Linked DNA regions of Homo sapiens: region 1 is linked to region 2. Evidence: promoter capture Hi-C in human tissues and cell types (Jung and others, 2019). All regions are on one chromosome and are shown on one strand. The core of a region is centred on a gene start or on the middle of the fragment in contact, and the rest is flanking DNA. Distances in the headings are between cores, read along the strand shown. Region 1 overlaps HHLA1 (HHLA1 neighbor of OC90). Region 2 holds the start of OC90 (otoconin 90).

Evidence for each region. The method cuts DNA at HindIII sites, captures the fragments that hold promoters and counts their contacts. A contact is called where the count stands out against the background at its distance.
Region 1: a contact is called between a fragment that was not itself captured here and the fragment with the promoter of OC90 in region 2, in 2 of the 25 tissues and cell types used here (hippocampus and pancreas).

The regions. Positions count from the first base shown.
Region 1 is chr8:132,092,948-132,096,747 of GRCh38, reverse strand. It overlaps HHLA1 (HHLA1 neighbor of OC90), which reads left to right. Exons shown (of 17, transcript NM_001145095.3): 6 at 962-1,045; 7 at 1,146-1,229. Among named protein-coding and RNA genes, the nearest start is that of HHLA1, 16 kb to the left of the region's middle. The HindIII fragment of the contact is 7,831 bases long and covers 1-3,800 here.
Region 2 is chr8:132,056,640-132,060,812 of GRCh38, reverse strand. OC90 (otoconin 90) reads left to right here and starts at 1,431. Exons shown (of 14, transcript NM_001080399.3): 1 at 1,431-1,472. RefSeq lists enhancers at 1,784-2,360, 2,361-2,938. The HindIII fragment of the contact is 9,699 bases long and covers 1-4,173 here.

The DNA.
Region 1 (3,800 bases), core at 653-3,152, 35 kb before region 2:
TGATTTAGTAGACCTGGGATCACATCCAGGAATGTGCCCTTTTAATAGGTGCACCTATTAAAGGTGTGTTGATGCAGGTGGGTGATTCTCAGACCAGGTCTGGAAAGATCTCCCTCTGCTGCACTGTGCTCCAGATATAAACTAAGAACAGGCACTGATGGAGAGTAGATAAGATGCTCATGCATGTATTCCTAAACCTGATTGTTTATGTTAGTATTCCTGGTTTAAAAAAAAATCCCCTTTCTTTGTGTAGTAGACTGAAAATGGCCAAAGATATCCACTTTGTAATTACCAGAATCTGTGAATACTACTTTATATGTCAAAAGAGTGAATATCACCTGATGTGATAACAGATTGATTGAGTTAAAGATTTTGAGATGAGGCCATTGTCCAGGATTATTTGTGTTGTGCCGGATGCCACCACAAGGGTCCTTACAAGAAAGAGGCAAAGGAGACACACACAGAAGAAAAGACCATGTGATGATAGAACAGAGAGAGATGTGGCCACAAGCCAAGGGACACAGGCAGCCGCCAGAGCTGAGAGAGGCAAGAACAGATTCTCCTTTAGAGCCCTTGAAGGGAGGGTGCCCTACTGAGTTTCAGACTTCTAGCCCCCAGAACTGTGAGAGAACAAATTTCTGCTGTTTTAGGCCACCAAGTTTGTGATAATTTGTTACAGCAGCCTCAGGGGCCTAATATGCCTTGGGAATCTTTCTTAGAGAGTTGCCACAGCTTGAGGATGGATCAGGAAATATAGACAAATGATACATACTCTTCAGCTTTTTGGTTTAGTTTTACTTTGTTTATTATTTTTTATTTGTATTACTTTTTTGTTTGTTTCTTTATTTTCATCATTGGTTTCTTTATTGGCATTGTTAATTTCTAGGGACTGTTTACTTATTTGTATTATTGTTACGTTAGTAGGCATCTGTCTGTCTCTTTATCTGGTATGTTTTGGCAGATAGCAAGAAGTTCTTCTCCTTGCTGAGTGTCACTTCCTACAGTTCCTTCGCCTTCCACAAGTTTTCTGTAGCTGTTTACAACAGTGAGTGCTGGCTGGCTCTTCTTGATGGTGGTGGTGGTAGGGATGTGTTGCAGGGCTGGTCTGTGTGTTAGGATCTCTGTTGAATCCTTTCTCTTCACAGTTTCTAACCTGAAGACAGTAGACCCCGCCAAATTCCCCACAAGGTATTGCTACTGTTTAAACAATCGGACCAATGACTTATCAGGTGGGTACAGCTTACCATGAGGCTTGCAGCTTTTCCAATTTTGCTTGTGTCCTTTTAGATAAGTTTTTGTTTTTCCTCAATGTAAGACAGGAAAATATGGTCCTATCCACTACCCTTAACCATGTGCTCATTCATTATCCCAGTGAAAAACAGTTGTGTGTGCAAAAGCAACAGGAGGAAAATGTTCATGAAGCATTGTTTTAATTGCAAAAGTGAGGAACAACCTAAATATCCATCATGAGGGAAAATGGTTAAGTAGTCTCCCACATAATTAAACTTTCAAAAACAGCCACAGATAATACATAAATGAGTGAGAGTGCTCAAATTTGGCCTGTGCATGGAAAAGCTTCCAAGAGATTTTTAATTAGAAAAAGAAAGTTACACAAAAATACAAAGAGCACAATGTTATTGATAAGAACACATATGTGGGCACCAGATAGGTGATTCCCTTTGAAAAGAAGATTGGAGTATGTGTTTTGGAGTGGAAGAATGTTGGTTAAAAGAGCCTTAGATTATCTGAACTTTTTTTTCCCAAGGAGAGTATGTTCATATGCTAGTTTTATAAATAAAACTTTAAAGTATTATGTGTTCCCTATTTTAGAGAATACTGAAAAATAAAAGTGACAATTTTTGCACCGTTAATTCACCCATTCAGTAATTCCATCTGAGCGTGCACTATGACCCATGCACTCTTCTAGGTGTGGGGAAAGCACACAGAGCAAAGTGAACACACCTCCTGCTCCCGTGGGACATAGATTCCTAGCGGGGAGCAGGGAGTAAATAAATGTACTGCAAGTACATGGTGTGTGGGCTGACAGCCTGACCATGGGAACCATGAAGCAGGGGAAAGCCGGAGGGAAAAGTCACAGTGGGGGATATTGCTGTGTGTAGGGTGGTCAGGAAAGTCTTCTCCAAATGAAGTGAGGGTTGAGGGGTGACCTTCAGGATGTGAGGGGCCAGCCCTGTGGTTGTTCCTGGGGACAGTGGTCCAGACAAAGGCCTAAGCAGCAGCATGAGGACCAGAGAAGCCAGCATAACTGGAGCAGGTTAGCCAGGACAGAGCTATAGGAAATTAGCTCTGATTGGTGAGGGCAAAGTGGGGAGGGTGTTGCAGATCATATAGAAGTTTAAGGTCTGCTGCGAGGATTCTAATTTTCACCCGGAATAAGAAGGAAGCCATTGTGATTGTCTGCACAGGGAAGGGACATGATCTGACATTTTAAAAGAATCCTTCTGGCTGCTTGTTAAATACGAGATTGTAAGGGAAGCAAGCACTAAAGGCAACCAAAGCCTCTTGTACTTTTCCCCACTTAGTCTAATATTAACCCTTCCACCATATTACAAACTCTTCTTAAACACTTGTAATGACTATGTAACCAGTGAATGCAAGCATTCTCTTAGCCACTATGCTGTTCTTAGACTTTTGAGTGGATCTAGGTTTTTCTTAATATAAATAATTTTGCCTTGGACATCTTTGTGCGTAAACTCTTCCCTGTTTCAGATTATTTCCCCCACTGAGTAGAATTTCTAAAACAAATATTGTGAAAATATTAAAGGAAAGAATTACTAATATATAATAAGTACTATATGCGAGATGCTACAATGAGTGCTTAATGTCTATTATCTTATGTAATTTACCCTGTGAATCTCTTCAACAAATACATTTGTGAGGAAAAAAATTCTTCATAATCATGCCTTTCTCACCATTTCATTAACCCCTGCTGAGGATAGAAGTCTGTGCTGGGTGAGTCCCTATCCTGATTGTGTGAAAGATAAAAATAAGATTTAAAAAGTTAAATCTGCCTGGAGAAAGTTTATAATTTTATTTCATGAGTCAAATCATATTTTCACACACTTGCAACAATTATATGAAAAGAATGATCCATGGATCATTATCTACTGATAAAATTGCCTGGTGTTCCTCTGGTAGGTCATAGCAACTTTTGCCAGGTTTGACAAGAAGTCACAGCGCTACCATGAGAGGCTGTACACGTAGGCCAACAACTTGCCGTTGCTCAACACCTTCGGGGAAGGTGACTTTGTGGATGATCTTTAGATCTGGATCATTTTCTTTTTAATGTTTTCAACTCTGATCTAAAGCCCTCCTTTGAGGGTATATTTGCATATTTTCCCTTTTTTTTCTTCCTAAATGAAACTGGCTTAAGTTTTCTTAATTTTAAAAATAATGTACTGTGATATCAAGATGCTATGCAACATGGACAGGAAAACTAAGAAACCAGAAATAGCTGATATCCCACCATCCACTGGTAGTCACTATTAACATGCTAATAAATGCTATCCAAGGCTGTCTACACTACCTATATAACCCACTTATCTATCCAACCTGTCATCTAAGCTACTTATCTAACCTACCTATCTACCTATGTACCCCAGCTAATATCTACCCATCAGTGTAGACATCCTGCTCTACATATAGGAACCCATTCTCTGCATTATTTAGAATACAGGGTGGGCTACTATAACAAATGACTCCAAAATAGCCTAGTTTAAAGAAGGTAGAAGTTAATTGCTTTCATGTCTGATAGTCTGGGCATGTAGACATGCCAGGGC
Region 2 (4,173 bases), core at 182-2,681:
AAAAATGATCCTTCTCAAAACCCCATGAAATGTCTCGAACAAGATACCTATGTAGATTGTTATGCCTTTGTATTGCTCAGGCATAATAACAATCTCAGTTATGCTCTTGAGCATAATAACAATCTCAGCTATGCTCTTGAGATGCTGAAAAGATGGATTTTGCTGCACTGAGCCATAGATGCCCACGGGCTTAGTCATTTTAGAGATGGTGGGTCTTTGGTGCTAATGAGAAAATATTACAGACAATGCATCTTCATTCCTCAAATCACATGAGATGCTGAACAATAGTTAATGATCTACAAACACAAGCCTCAATGAATGAGAGTAATTACTTATTTGAAGAAGCCCTTCAATGGGTTCTTCCATAGAGGCTCAATTGTGCCCTGATTTAATCGTTTGAGGAGTCCTGCTTCTTCAGGAGGTGGCCATAGAGTGAGCAACTCAGAGGGTTCACAGCCAGGCTAACCTGCATTCCAGAATGCTTCCATTACACGTGAGCTTCTACAATGCCTCAACCTCAACGACACCATTTTTTCTCATCTGTAAAGTGGAGCTAATTAATCCTTGCTCCTAGGATTATGAAAGCAGTAATGGAAGGGCTGCTGCAGGGATGATGAGGGCAAAATCCTATAAAACACTTGTGGTACATTACACGTACTCAATAAATGCCAGTTCTCCTTTCAAAATCAGGAAAGAAAACCCTTCACAAGGCGATATGAGGAAGTGACAAAAAGAACTAGGACTTAATGAGCCCCCATACCACACACTATATATGGCTTTCTTCAGCCTCGAAATCTTAGTAGGATTAAGCCCATTTAACAGATGTGGAAGCTAAAGCTGAGCAGTGACAAACTCAAGGTCACACTGCTACTCAGTAGCAGGGCTGGCAGAGGAACCTTGGGTGTCTGATTATAAAGCCCCACCTCACCCTACCCCACAGCTTGGGCAGAAAAGCCCTAAAGGAAAGAGGCATCAAATTCCGAGATCTGAGGCCAAGAACATATAAGAAGAATCACGCTAGAAATCCTCTTGCTAAAGAATGAACTAGACCAGACAAAGCCAGCCCTTTATCTTGCAGGAGAGCCCACATGACTTTCATCAGTCTTTCATCCCCCGAGAGTTCCCATGATGACCCTGAGACATAATCCATGGGCCTCCTAGCCTTTGAGGTGAGGTGGGGTAGAACAGGGAACCCATTGTTCTCTAATTAGAGCCTGAGGTCTCCTCTGAGGCTCAAGATGGGGCTTCTTAATATGGAGCCTTCACCTGTTCCAAGCTATAGTATTATGATGCCTCCTCCCTTCAGAGGCAGCCCACCTGCCAACATTCATGAAAGGCTTCCTTCTTGATGTGAGGAGTGGGGAGAGGCATCACATGGCTAAGGGTCTTTCCTTGGGGTATAAAGGACTCAGTCTGCACCTGTTCAAACCCTAGCATCATTCATCCAGCTGCACTCCAGTGGAGCCTTCACGGTAGGCATCTGTTATTCCTGATGGTTGGGGAGACAGAGAGCAGGGGAGGGAGGGAGGGAGGAAGACAGCAAGTAAAGGAGGGAAATGAATGGGAGAAGAGAAGAAGGGAGGGAGAAAGAGAAGGAGGGGGAGAGGGAGGGATGGAGGAAAAGAGTGAGGGAGGGAGGGAAATGGTTGGGAGATGGAAAGAGGCAGAAAGGGTAGGAGGAAGGAGGGGAGGGAAGAAAAGTAGGAGAAATTGATGAAGGAAGAAAAGGAGGGAGAAAGAGAGGGTAGAAGGGAGGGAGGGAGAGAGGGAAAGAGGGAGGAAGGGAGAGAAGAATGGAGGGGAAATGAGGAGATAAATGAATGGAGGATAAGGTGGTAGGGGATGCTCTCAGGGCTGTCTGAGACCTGGATGTTGCTCCAGGATATAGCTGAAAACCCAAATTGCTCTGAGTCGATCTGTGAAAAGATGCAATGCCAGACAGAGAGCACCTGGCAAATTTACCCGGGGGAAAAATCCACCACTTCACATTAGTGAGGATCCTACATAGCCCTGGGCAATGACCCCGCCCACGGCACCTGGTGTGGAAACACAATCAGCATTAATTATGGGCAGTCCTCACTGAGCACTGAGCAAGTGCCGGAGATGGTGTTCTACCTTTATAAGACTCATCAGATTTAACCCTCATGATTCCCTGATGAAAAAACACCATTATATGCATTTCGCTGCCCAGGAAAATGAGTTCCAGGCATCTTCAGTGCCTGGCTCAGGGCACTCGACAAGCAAAAGGCAGAGCCTGAACTCCCTGACCCCAGCCCAGGTCTGTCCGACCAGCAAGGCCTTGGGCTCAGACACTGGCTATGCAGCCATGAGACCGGCCATTGGGAGACAGCTAGGGGAGCCGGGACTCCAAACCTGGCATGCAGACCAAGGCGAGGCTTCGGGAGCCTTCTCAGGCCCACAAGGACAGCACTGACCCATGAGGCCACGACAGCCCCAGAGACTTCCTTGGGCAAATTAGGAGAAGGAGGTCTTTCCTCCAGGTAGACACAGCCCCACAGCCAAGGGCGCCTGACTTGGCCAACAGGAGGATACTGGATTTCAGAAGCAGCCCCACACCATCCCACCCACGTACCCTAATGTGCACGTACCCCAGATTCGGGTCATCCTCACTGTTGCCCAGGGCTGACCACGTGCTTCTAACTGGCACCTTCTAGCTGGCACTGACTTTCCTTCTTTGTGCGCAGCAAGGAAGCTGTCACCTGCTGTGTTTCACCACACCCTAGCAAGAAGCTGGCCACCCTAAGGGTCTTCCCAAGCAAGTACTACCGATAATTGTGACAGTTACGCAGTGAGTCATCACTGGAATGCTTAGTTTGTCTCAAAGGACCGGCCTAGCAGTTTAGGGTATTGGAGCCAGAACAAGTCAGACTGGCCCACCTGGGTCTGGTCATTGCCAGAGCGCCCCCTTCTGGGCAAGGGCCACCCTGGCAAGTGACTCACCCTCTGAGCCCAGTTTCCTGGTCTAGAAAGTGAGACGTCTTGATAGCCAAAGTCTTGGAGGGTTGTCACCAGACAGCAAGTGGGGCATGCTCAGTGGAACACCTGACACAAAGAATGACCTAATCCATGAAATGTTGTGTTTAAAGGAATAAGGTCATGAAGATTATTACTTACTTTTTAAAAAGTTGTGGTAAAATATACATAATATTGACCATGTCAGCCACTTTTAAGTGTACAGCTGAGGAGCATTAAGTGCATTCACATTGATATGCAATCACGCCACTGTCCACCTCCAGGACTTTTTCATCTTCCCCTACTGAAACTCTCCCCATTATCGAAGAACACCCAATCATACCTCCTTATAACTTATTGCAAAAATAAATTAGAGCATAGTCAAAATTATGTCTCTAATAAAGTCATTTTGGCTCATTTGCATTCAAGCAACATGTTTCAAGGAGGTAATGGAACATGACCTTCAGGCCGTCTTATCTGAGCTGCAGAACTCCCCAGGGGAATGCACCCCTGAAACATGTGTCACAAAAGAAAAACAGAGATCCACTGTGCAAAACTGATCATTCTTCTTCATTCACCAGACAGGGCCTTCCACTCTTACAGGGGATTAGGGAACAGCACAAAGGCCTTCATTGTAGCAGCTACTACTTATTGAGCCTTTGACCTCGAGCCAGATGCCATCATTGTAATTCTTAATGCTTTTGAGCAACTTCTCTATGTCAGGCGCTGTTGTATGTGCCTCACAAAGATTAACTCATTTCAGTCTTCACAACAGCCTCACAGATAGGTACTGTTATTATGATGACACTGGACTTGGAGTCAGGAGACCTGGGAAGCTGGACATTCTTGCCATGATTTGCCAGGCTCTAAACCTCAATGATCTCATCTGTAAAACAGGAGCTTGGACTGGAAGATCCCAATGCCACTCCAAGTTCAGACATGCTGGCAACCTGTCATGGTGTGATGGTCACAATAAAATACCTGACATACTGAGTGGCAGAAAGTGACTACATTGTCCAAGTTCATGTTGGACCCATTCATGTGGGTATCATTTCAATGAGGTCTCTGGGCTCCTCTGAAGTGCCTTCTGCTAACCACAAGACTTTCCAGGGCATACCACTTTCCATTTGGAGACCTCTCTTGTCTCCCCCTTAATTTTCAGCCTTGTTTCATGGCCTGAGAAGGAATCATTCAGAACTG